Regions from separate parts of the Homo sapiens genome. Here region 1 is linked to region 2. Evidence: promoter capture Hi-C in 16 types of primary human blood cells and fetal thymus (Javierre and others, 2016). All regions are on one chromosome and are shown on one strand. Each heading gives the region's core, a stretch centred on a gene start or on the middle of the fragment in contact. The rest is flanking DNA. Distances are from core to core; before and after follow the strand shown. Region 1 overlaps SQLE (squalene epoxidase). Region 2 holds the start of RNF139 (ring finger protein 139).

What was found. Contacts are between HindIII fragments. The CHiCAGO score rates a contact against its expected background, and 5 or more counts as called.
Region 1: a fragment that was not itself captured here is called in contact with the fragment with the promoter of RNF139 in region 2 in 1 of 17 cell types (erythroblasts); the score reaches 5.7 in erythroblasts.

The regions. Positions count from the first base shown.
Region 1 is chr8:125,009,694-125,014,365 of GRCh38, forward strand. SQLE (squalene epoxidase) reads left to right here. Exons shown (of 11, transcript NM_003129.4): 7 at 1,844-1,939. Among named protein-coding and RNA genes, the nearest start is that of SQLE, 14 kb to the left of the region's middle. The HindIII fragment of the contact is 597 bases long and covers 1,309-1,905 here.
Region 2 is chr8:124,471,222-124,476,455 of GRCh38, forward strand. RNF139 (ring finger protein 139) reads left to right here and starts at 3,659. Exons shown (of 2, transcript NM_007218.4): 1 at 3,659-4,069. The coding sequence starts at 3,889. It overlaps RNF139-DT (RNF139 divergent transcript), which reads right to left and starts at 3,342. Exons shown (of 2, transcript NR_108047.1): 1 at 2,864-3,342. RefSeq lists enhancers at 2,747-2,936, 3,024-3,568, 3,277-3,606, 3,569-4,114, 4,115-4,658 and 1 more and a silencer at 3,627-3,936. The HindIII fragment of the contact is 6,816 bases long and covers 1-5,234 here.

The sequences.
Region 1 (4,672 bases), core at 357-2,856, 540 kb after region 2:
CTGAGGCAGAAGAATCGCTTGAACGGGAGGCAGAGGTTGTAGTGAGCCGAGATCGTGCCATTGCACTCCAGCCTGGGCAACAAGAGCGAAACTCCGTCTCAAAAAAAAAAAAAAGTTTTGATATGTTTTTGTCACATAATAGCATAGTTTTTAGAATAATTGTTTTTATTGGCATATATGGTATTTTTAAAGGTAGTCTCTGGACACGAATCTGACTCTGAATTCTTTATCTCTTATACCTAAATATTTTTGTGCTTGGTTTTTGTAGTAATGACAGCTACCATTTCTTGAATGCTTACTATAAAGTGTTTAGCAAACATAATTTCATTTAATCTATGTAACCACTCTGTGAGGTAGGCATTATCATTATTCTCATTTTACAGATGGGAGAACTAAGGTTCAGAGAGATTAGTTAGCTCCTCCAAGTATAAACTATTAGTAATGGCAGAACCAGGGTTGATATCAGGTCTGTCTGGCTCATATGTGCCTGTTTGAACAGACATGTCCTGTCCGCAGAATGTGAGAATTGTAAGGGATCTTCAGGATCATGTTAGTTTTGAGTTGAATATAAAGGCTTCATGAGATTTAGATAGCTTTGTAAAAACATTAATAAAAATTACTTTTTCACAAATCTAAAGTTTTCATGGTACAGTTTTTAGGATCTTTTTTTGAGAATGGGATGATATAGGAAAGAAAAGTAAAAAAAATTTAAGAATTTTGATAAAATTGAAGGGAAACCCTCATTGTCAATTATGATATGATTAGAGTAATAGGAAACTATTTTTGGTATGAGTACATTTTGTTTAAATATTCCGTTTTTTTCAAGTTATTTTTTAAACTAAGTGAAACCACTTTAGTAACAAATTATTAACAGAAATGAAGTGAAATGAAGTGGGCAAACTTAGATTTTAAATAATGACATTTTCAACATGTACATGGAAACATTTCAATAAATTTTCATTTAGTTAAGCCACTTTTGAAGCTTTCAGATGGGGAAATTATGAATATTTATGAAAAGGGTCATCCATTACCTGATATTTTTAGCATTTATTTTTCTTTTATTGTAAATGTGGTGGTTTTTCTTTTTTTTTTCTTTTTTCCAATCCAGAGGTTAATTGGAGTAGAGTGCCCTGAAATTATGGAGAGAAACCATTGGTAGGTTTATATTAATATTAGTTAGATTACCAAAATTCTACTCCTTAATATGAATGGAATAATTTTTAACAGAGGCTTCTGCTCCTCTATTCCCAGATCACACTGGGAATTGTATGACAGTTCATTTTCTATATAAGTAGCACAGAAATTTAAAGCTTGTTTGGAAGTATCTCAGAGATGAGCTGATCAAACCATTTCATTTTTATAGATGAAGAAATTGAAGCTCAGAGAGGTAGGGCTGGCCTCGAATTCCTTTTCTAGTGTACATACCCTCCTGCTGTTTGTGAATTGGTAGTGTATTTCATCTGATTATTACAAGAATATATTGATTATAATACATTAAATATTAAATATGACAGTAGTCTGTTAACATTTGGAAGAAAGGTAGGTGGTTTTCTCCCTGTTTCATTTCATCTGAATTTGCCTCATTGTTTTTTCATTCAGTTGTATGTATGTTTATATTAATGTTCTCTTAGATTCCTTAGTCATTCCTTGGCATTAACAGCTAAGTGCTTAATGAATAATTTTATTAATGAAATAATTAGTTCTTGATTTATCACAAGGGATATATGTAACAACCATAACAGATGTATAGTAGGCATTTGTTTATACTTGATAAGAAAATATGTGATACTTTGAAATTGAAGTGTTATGACCCATTTCTTTGGGTTGGTGGGATTTATTGCAGATCACCTGAAAGAACCATTCTTAGAAGCCACTGACAATTCTCATCTGAGGTCCATGCCAGCAAGCTTCCTTCCTCCTTCATCAGTGAAGAAACGAGGTATTATTTTTTGGGCTTATTTTATAAAGGAATCAGTATTCCAAATGACAAATATATGATTAAATTTATACTGTTACGAATAACTTCTGGGACAGATAGTTTGTCACTGTGGATTAGTGCATTATTAATACCAAAATTAGTTTTATGATCTATTTAGTTGTTAACATTGAGTGTATACAAGTATTGTGCTAGTCAGGGAAACAACAGGTAAAAAACTGACCTTGACCTAGAGAAGGCAATTTTCTACTTAGGAATGTAGACAGATAATTTTACAACACTGTTGATAAATAAAACCCACAGATTCAGTGTCAAGAAGTGTGCAGAGCAGGGAGGGAAGCTTGTGAAATGGGAGGGGTAGTTAGGGAGGACGTTGTTCAGGAAACAGTGGAAACAAAGGACCTTGGACCTGGAGGATGAGTGGGAGTTCATGAGGTGGACACTAAGATGAGGAACTTCTAGGTAGATGGAATAACATTGCCAAAGGATGAGAAATGGTGGCACTTTCAAGGAACTCAAGCAGTTTCCTATGGCAGGAGCATAGGGTGGGTGTCAGAGTGGGAGACAGACCATTAACATTTAATCTTACAGACAATGGAAAGTCATTTGAAGTGTTTTCTTGTTACTAACTTTATTGATATATAATTCACAAATCAGTTTGCCCATTTAAAGTGTACAGTACAGTGACTTTTTTAGTATATTCACAGTGTGTGCATCACCACCACAATCAAATTTAGAACATTTTTATCTTGCCCAAAGAAACCCCGTACCCATTGGTATTCACTCCCCATTTCCTCCCAACACTCAGCCCTAGGCTACCCCTAATTTACTTTCTGTGTCTAGATTTGTCTATTTGGGATGTTTCCTAAAGGCATTGTATAGTAAAGCCCTTTGGAACTGGCTTTTCATTTAGCACAATGTTTTTGAGGTTCATTCATGTTGTAGCATGTTTCAGTTCTTCATTTGTTTTTATGGCCAAATAATCTTCCATTGTGTGGCTATATTACATTTTGTTTAGCCATTCATCAATTGATAGATATTTGGGTTGTTTCTACTTTTTGGTTATTACAAGCAATGCTGCTATGAACATCTGTGTGCGAGTTTTTGTGTGGACATATATTTTCATTTTTCTTGGTTATATACCCAAGAGTGATATTGCTGGATTACATAGTAGTTCACGTTTAACTTTTTGAGGAGCTGCTAGACTTGTTTTCCAAAATAGCTGTCCCAGTTACATTCCTTTCAGCAGTGTGTGAGTTCTAATTTCTCCACATCCTTGTCAGTGAACACTTGTATTATCTTTGTGTGCATAGCCATCCTAGTAGTGTGAACTAGGCCTTTTATCATTGTGCTGATTTGCATTTCTCTCATAGATAATGATGTTGAACATCTTTTCATATGCATATAGGCCATTTGTTGTTTGGAGAAATGTATATTTAGACTTTGCATATTTTTTTAATTGGGCAGATTTAAAATTTATGTATTGTTGAGTTTCAAGAGTCCTTTATATATTTTAGGTACAAGTCCCTTATTAGATATGTGATTTGCAAAATTTTTCTCATTCTGTGGGTTTTCTTTCCATTCTTCTTAATGGTTTCCATTGAAGTACACATGGTTTAAATTTTCATGTTTATTTTTTCTTTCGTTGCTTGTGCTTTTGATGTCATATTTAGGAAGGCTTTGTCCAATCTAAGTTCAAAAAGATTTACTCCTATGTTTTCTTTTTCTTTTTTTTTTTTTGAGATGGAGTTTCGCTCTTGTCGCCTAGGCTGGAGTGCGATGGTGCGATCTCGGCTCATTGCAACCTCGGCCTCCCAGGTTCAAGCAATTCTCCTGCCTCAGCCTCCCGAGTAGCTGGGATTATAGGTGCTCGCCACCGTGCCCAGCTAATTTTTGTATTTTTAGTAGAGACGGGGTTTCGCCATGTTGGCCAGGCTGGTCTCAAACTCCTGACCTCAGGTGATCCACCCACCTCAGCCTCCCAAAGTCCTGGGATTACAGGCATGAGCCACCATGCCTGGCCTGTTACTCCTATATTTTCTTCTAAGAGTTTTATAGTTTTACCTCTTAAATTTAGCTCTTTGATCCATTTTGAGTTAAATTTTGTGTCTGTTGAGAGGAAGGGGTCCAGCTTGATTTGTTTGTGTGTGGATATTCAGTTGTCCCAGTATCATTTGTTGAAAAGACTGTTTGTTCCCCAGTGAATTTTCTTGCCCTTGTGGTCAAAATTCCCTTGACTGAAAGGTAAGGGTTTCTTTCAACAATATTTTGTAGTTTTCAGAGTATAAGTTTTGCATTTCTTTTGTTAAATTTATTCCTAAGTATTTTACCTTTTTTGATACTTTTGTAAATGGAATTTTCTTAAAGAGGCAGTGGCATGATTAGACTTTTATTTCAGGAATATACTCTGACATTTTTGTGGAGGATGGTTTGGAGGAAAGTCTAGTAAAACATACACTAAGATTAATTATTCTGTCAATGATGATAAAAGGCCAGAACTAGGGTTGTAAAATGAAAGGTAATGAATAAATTTGGGTAATATCTAGGATGTAGAATGTAAAAAACGTGATGATTTGGATATTATAATGAGAGTGAAATCTCTTGATGTAAATTCCAGGTTTCTGGCTTAGATAGTTTTGCCAGCCATTTGCTGACATAGGAACAGGAAAAGGAGTTAATTGGGTTTTCTTTCTTTTTTCTTAGTTTGTCTTAAAGGTTTGCTGATTTTATCTTTTC
Region 2 (5,234 bases), core at 2,409-4,908:
GGTACTTATAGCAATGCAAGAATGGCCTAATATAGGTGGTCTCTCCTGGGACTTGAAATCTTGAGGAATAATGAAAATAACCCCTTAATAAATTCCCTTTTTGCTTAAGATAACCCAGAAGAATCAGTTTCTGTTGTAGGAAACAAAGACTTCATTAATGCAAATGTCAAGAGAAAATTCAAACTAGTTTTTACACATCCTACCTGTAAAAGTTTTGAAAGCTACTAAAAGGCTTTCTGAGCTGTTAAATCTGAAGGATTTATAACAGATTGTTATTTTCAAACACGAGTATTCTATGTATACAGTTTGTGTGTGTGTGTATTCACACACACACACACACACACTCATGAACCACACTGTGCAGACTCAATATAAATGTACACCTGAGTTGTGCAACATTCAAATCAATGCAGAAATCAAGCAAAGATTAGATTCAGTGAATTGTAGCTATTTCTTGGAAACATTACCTTTTTTTTGAGACAGGGTCTCACTCTGTCACCCAGGCTAGAGTACAGTGGCGTGATCTTGGCTCACTGCAACCTCTGCTACCCAGGCTCAAGGCAGGCTCAAGTGATCCTCCCACCTCAGCCTCCTGAGCAGCTGGTACCACAGGCCTATGCCACCATGCCCAGCTATTTTTTTTTCCCCCAAGACAGAGTCTCACTCTGTCACCCAGGCTGCAGTGCAGTGGCGCCATCCTGGCTCACTGCAACCTCCGCCTCTCGGGTTTAAGCAATTCTCCTGCCTCAGCCTCCCAAGTAGTTGGGATTACAGGTGCCCACCATCACACCCGGCTAATTTTTGTATATTTAATAGACATGGGGGTTTTACCATGTCGGCCAGGCTGATCTCGAACTCCTGACCTTGTGATCCGCCCGCCTCGGCCTCTCAAAGTGCTGGAATTACAGGTGTGAGCCACCGCGCCCAGCCCACATCCAGCTATTTTTACAATTTTTTTGTAAAGATATAGTTTTGCCTTGTTGGACAGGCTCGTCTTGAACTTCTGGCTCAAGCAATCCACCCTCCTTGGCCTCCCAAAGTGCCGGGATTTCAGGCATAAGCCACCACACCCAGCTGGAAACATCTTTTATCTTAAAAATTCCTAAGCATCCTATAAATTACCTCATTACTATAAATTTAATTTTAACGTAGTATTTTAACACAGTTGCCAGGACCTCATTCAAACCTTCATTTTATAGATGGAGAAAGAGAGCTCACACAGGGGTGTCCAAGGGAGATAATACAGTCATGGGTTCTTAGTTTCCGCTTCTGGTTGGGTCAGTAAATACCTCCTCATCTCTCTTTTCCGCTTATCACTAGAAACAGAAACTAAAAACCATGGCTTCAGGCTGTTAACAGCCTAAAACAAAACAGAACAACAACAGTAACAAAATAAGGTGGGTTGGACAAGTTTGGCAGAGAGCCTGCTTGGAGAAGCTGTGTGAAAAAAAAAAAAGACTGCCACCGCTCCTGAAAGTTCTCGGCCCAAGATGGAATTTAGTCAAAGAAACTCTTACACTAATAAAATTTGTACATCAAATTAAGATCAGGGACAGTTAAAACATTAATAAAGACTGAAGCATTTGTTCATTTAAAAAATTTTATTTAATATTTACATTTATTTTTAAAATAAAAATTAGAGGAAAGCCCATGAACTCATTTTCCATGAACATAATATAATAGTACTCACCTATCTCCTCTACCCAACTTGTGTTTTAGATGAGTCCTTTTGGATCTTTTTCCCCATAATGGCCTCTCTCCTTTTGCTTTACAGTGCAATCAGGGCAGAATAACAGATATGTTGAGTAGCTAATTTATATTTCTGAAGATCTCCATAGAACTCTTAAGTTCTAAGTCTTCATAGTCTTTGCACCTTGCCAAGTTTGCTTTCCTTTGGGAATTCTGTCATAACCACAAGGTTATTCCCCAGACATGCAGTTTGGGGAAATTAACCCGGCAGTAGTAAACAGACTGGATTAGAAAAGGTGGCAGTCGTAATAAGGATATTCCAATAACCGGGGAAAGCTACAGAAGGATCTTGAGTTAGGATGATGACAGTTACAATAGAAAGGAGACCAGTACAAGAGACGGTGAAAACAGAATGGATACAATTTAGTTGAAGAATTGGCTGTGGGTGAAAAGAAGAAATCAAAGATGCCTGAAGTTGTGAGTTTCAGGTAGCCCTGAGTTTATAATCCTAGTTCTGACTCGTACTATCTTTGGATATACTAGCTGCTGACTACTAACTGAACAAGGTAGTAACCTTGTCATCTTGTAACTTACCTAAGTCTGTTTCCTCCTCTATAAAACAAACTATCAAAATAAAGCCGATGAAAAGATTGAAGTAAAACATAAAACCCTTAGCACAGTGCCTAGTATCCATTAAGCAGTAGATAAATGATGGCGGTCATTATTAGGGAGTAGGGTAAAGAACAGAAGGTTAAAAACATGAGTAGCAGTAAGGACTTTTGGGTGGGGATTCGGTCTTTCTACTACACATTACACATACCTCTAAGCAGAGAAAGGGGTTGGAGGGGAGTTTGATAATGTGACTAATAATCCTCCTCCCCCTGGGGGGGATCTTGATAAAGGATAGCCACCCACATGGAGGCCTAATATAAACTGGATTGCAGAATGCACTTGAGCTGGGAGCCCAAGCGGGCCAGGCTTCTTGATTCCTATTTTATCCCCTTTAACCTAGGATAGCTAGGTCTATAGTGCAGACTCAGACCTAACTTACACTTTCATTTGCAGCTGAAGTTTCGGAACAAAGACAAAGATAGCCAGATCATATTAATTACACGGATAGGCAAGAAAGCATGAGCCCTGAGGAGGAAGGAAGGGACTGTCCAGGTGTACTTACCTCAAAGATGAGAAATATCAAAGACAGGAAACCCTAGGTTCTTGCCCTTCAGTCGCTATCTCCTTGCCATTAGTAAAATGCGGCCGATGAATGTCCTCACTTCTGTCCATCTGGGCAGGAGGTGGGAAGGGTGACGTGCAAATGGATGGGAGGAACCCTTTTTTCGGCAGCACCCACCACACCCAGCCTAGTGCCACGCACCGCAAGCGCTCCATAAACGCACACAGCGTCGCCTCTACCAGGATCCCGGGCGGCCTTCGCGGGATTTCTCCTGGCGTCGGCTTTCAGACTCCCGAGGGTGGGATAAATCGAGAGGGTGGCATCCTTTGGCTTTTCTTCTCCCAGGCAGCTCTGAACCATGTTTATGCAACGTTTAATGGGCTCTAATAAAACGGCTAATAATTTTGATCCGCGGAAGCACCGACTCGCTCGCTAAGCCGAATCTGCGAGGGTGAAGCTGCAACTCCAACGCCGGAAAGCGCGGCTACCGAAAAGCGCATGCGCCACGGGGTGGCACGAAGCTAGAGTAAGCTGAGGAGGTGGGCGGAAACCATGGCAACCATGGGTGATGACGACATGGGGAGCGTCTCTAGCGCTGGATTATGACGCTGGATTATGACGCAGGCAGTGGGCGCGGACTCTGCGGTTCGCTTGACTGACGGCGCAGCCTCCGGGCCTAGCCACAGCAGCAACGGCAGAGGCCAGCGGGCGAGGTCAAGATGGTGGCTCCGCGGGCGGGGGAGGCAGTGGAGGGAGGAGGAGTCAGACCTTAGCCAGCCGGAAACACCGAAACCCAGAGACCTCCTGGGGAGCCGCCGCCGCCGCCCTCTCGGCCATCGCTGCCTCCGCCGCCTGCTCCACCTCGAGGGACGCGAGCGGGCGGCGGGGCTGGCCGTGAGAGAGACAGGAGAGGAAGGAGGGCAGGGGCGGAGTTGCCCGCCTTAGCCCCCGCCCCCGGCCGCGGCCCCGGGCCCTGCCCCGCGCGGCCCTGCCCGGCCCACCGAGCCCTGGTGTGGCAGCGGCTCATGGCGGCCGTGGGGCCCCCGCAGCAGCAGGTGCGGATGGCCCATCAGCAGGTCTGGGCGGCGCTCGAAGTGGCGCTCCGGGTGCCCTGCCTTTACATCATCGACGCCATCTTCAACTCCTACCCGGATTCCAGCCAAAGCCGGTTCTGCATCGTGCTCCAGATCTTCCTCCGGCTCTTTGGTAAGGGAACAGGGTACCGTACGTCCCGGGACGGCTATGCGGGCCGAGACGTTCCCCGGGGAGCGGGCAGGCGCGCAGAGGCCATGGGTCGAGTATGTGTCTTTGGGAACTACAGTTTCATCCCTCAAAGGGTCGTCTTTACGGGTTGGGAGGGGGAAGGAGATGATACTTGTCTGAGTTGACAGCGGAGCAGTCCCCCTAGCGAGGATTCAGTGTTGTACCTGAGTGAGGTGGGGAGAAAGTAAGGATGTGTGAGCATGCAGCTCTTTGCCCGTTTGCCTTGGGAAATGAGTACTGGCTTACCGCGTCCTATGCGACAGCCTTCGAAAAACAACTCTGCTATCCCAGTCTCGTCGTGTGTGACCTTGGACTTCTGCCAAGGCGTGGGCCTCAGTTTCCCTTTATTACCAAATGCCGAGTACTTGTATGTTGTCACTTCTGCTGCACCCGAGGGTCCACAGGATCGTGAAGTGTCTGCAGTAAATGACATCCAAGCGAAGGAGACAGGGTTTTGAATGTCAGACCTTGAAACCATTACCAAAAATTCTCATGAAAGCGGCGATGCTTAAATCGAGTCCTAAAATTTTCCATGAATAAACGAGAAGGTATTGAAAGTGACTGTAAAAAGTGATGAGACATTTGCCAAAGAGACTTCTGAAAATCATTGTCTTTGTTTCGTATGGATGGAGTGTTAAAAGTATCTTATATTTCATTTCTTCCTTTCCATCTTCACTTACATCATCAGAGGGAGATGCATTTATGCGTAAAATAATTTTTTAAGTAATTGTAACTTGGCAAATTTTGTTGATGAGGTAATTCTGGTGATCGGTCTTAAGTAGGCTAGTGCTTTTGAAGTGTTGCTGAGGGCAGACTGATGGTGAGGTCTTTACCAAGCCTTTCTGAATTACAAGCCATCTGTTGCTTTATTCCTTCAAAAGAGGAGTGGCAATAAAGGCCGAATTTTGTTCTTAGCAATAAATAGCCATATTTTACATTTATCTGGTATTTTCCTTTTGCAAAGCATTTTCACTGGTAGGTATTATCTAACCTAACCTTCAAACATCCCCCAGAGGTGGGTGGTGGTATTGTCATTTTACAAACCAGGAAACAGGGTCATAGAGGTTAAGTGTTTTGCTCTTGGTAGGCTGCCGCTAAGTGGTTGCCA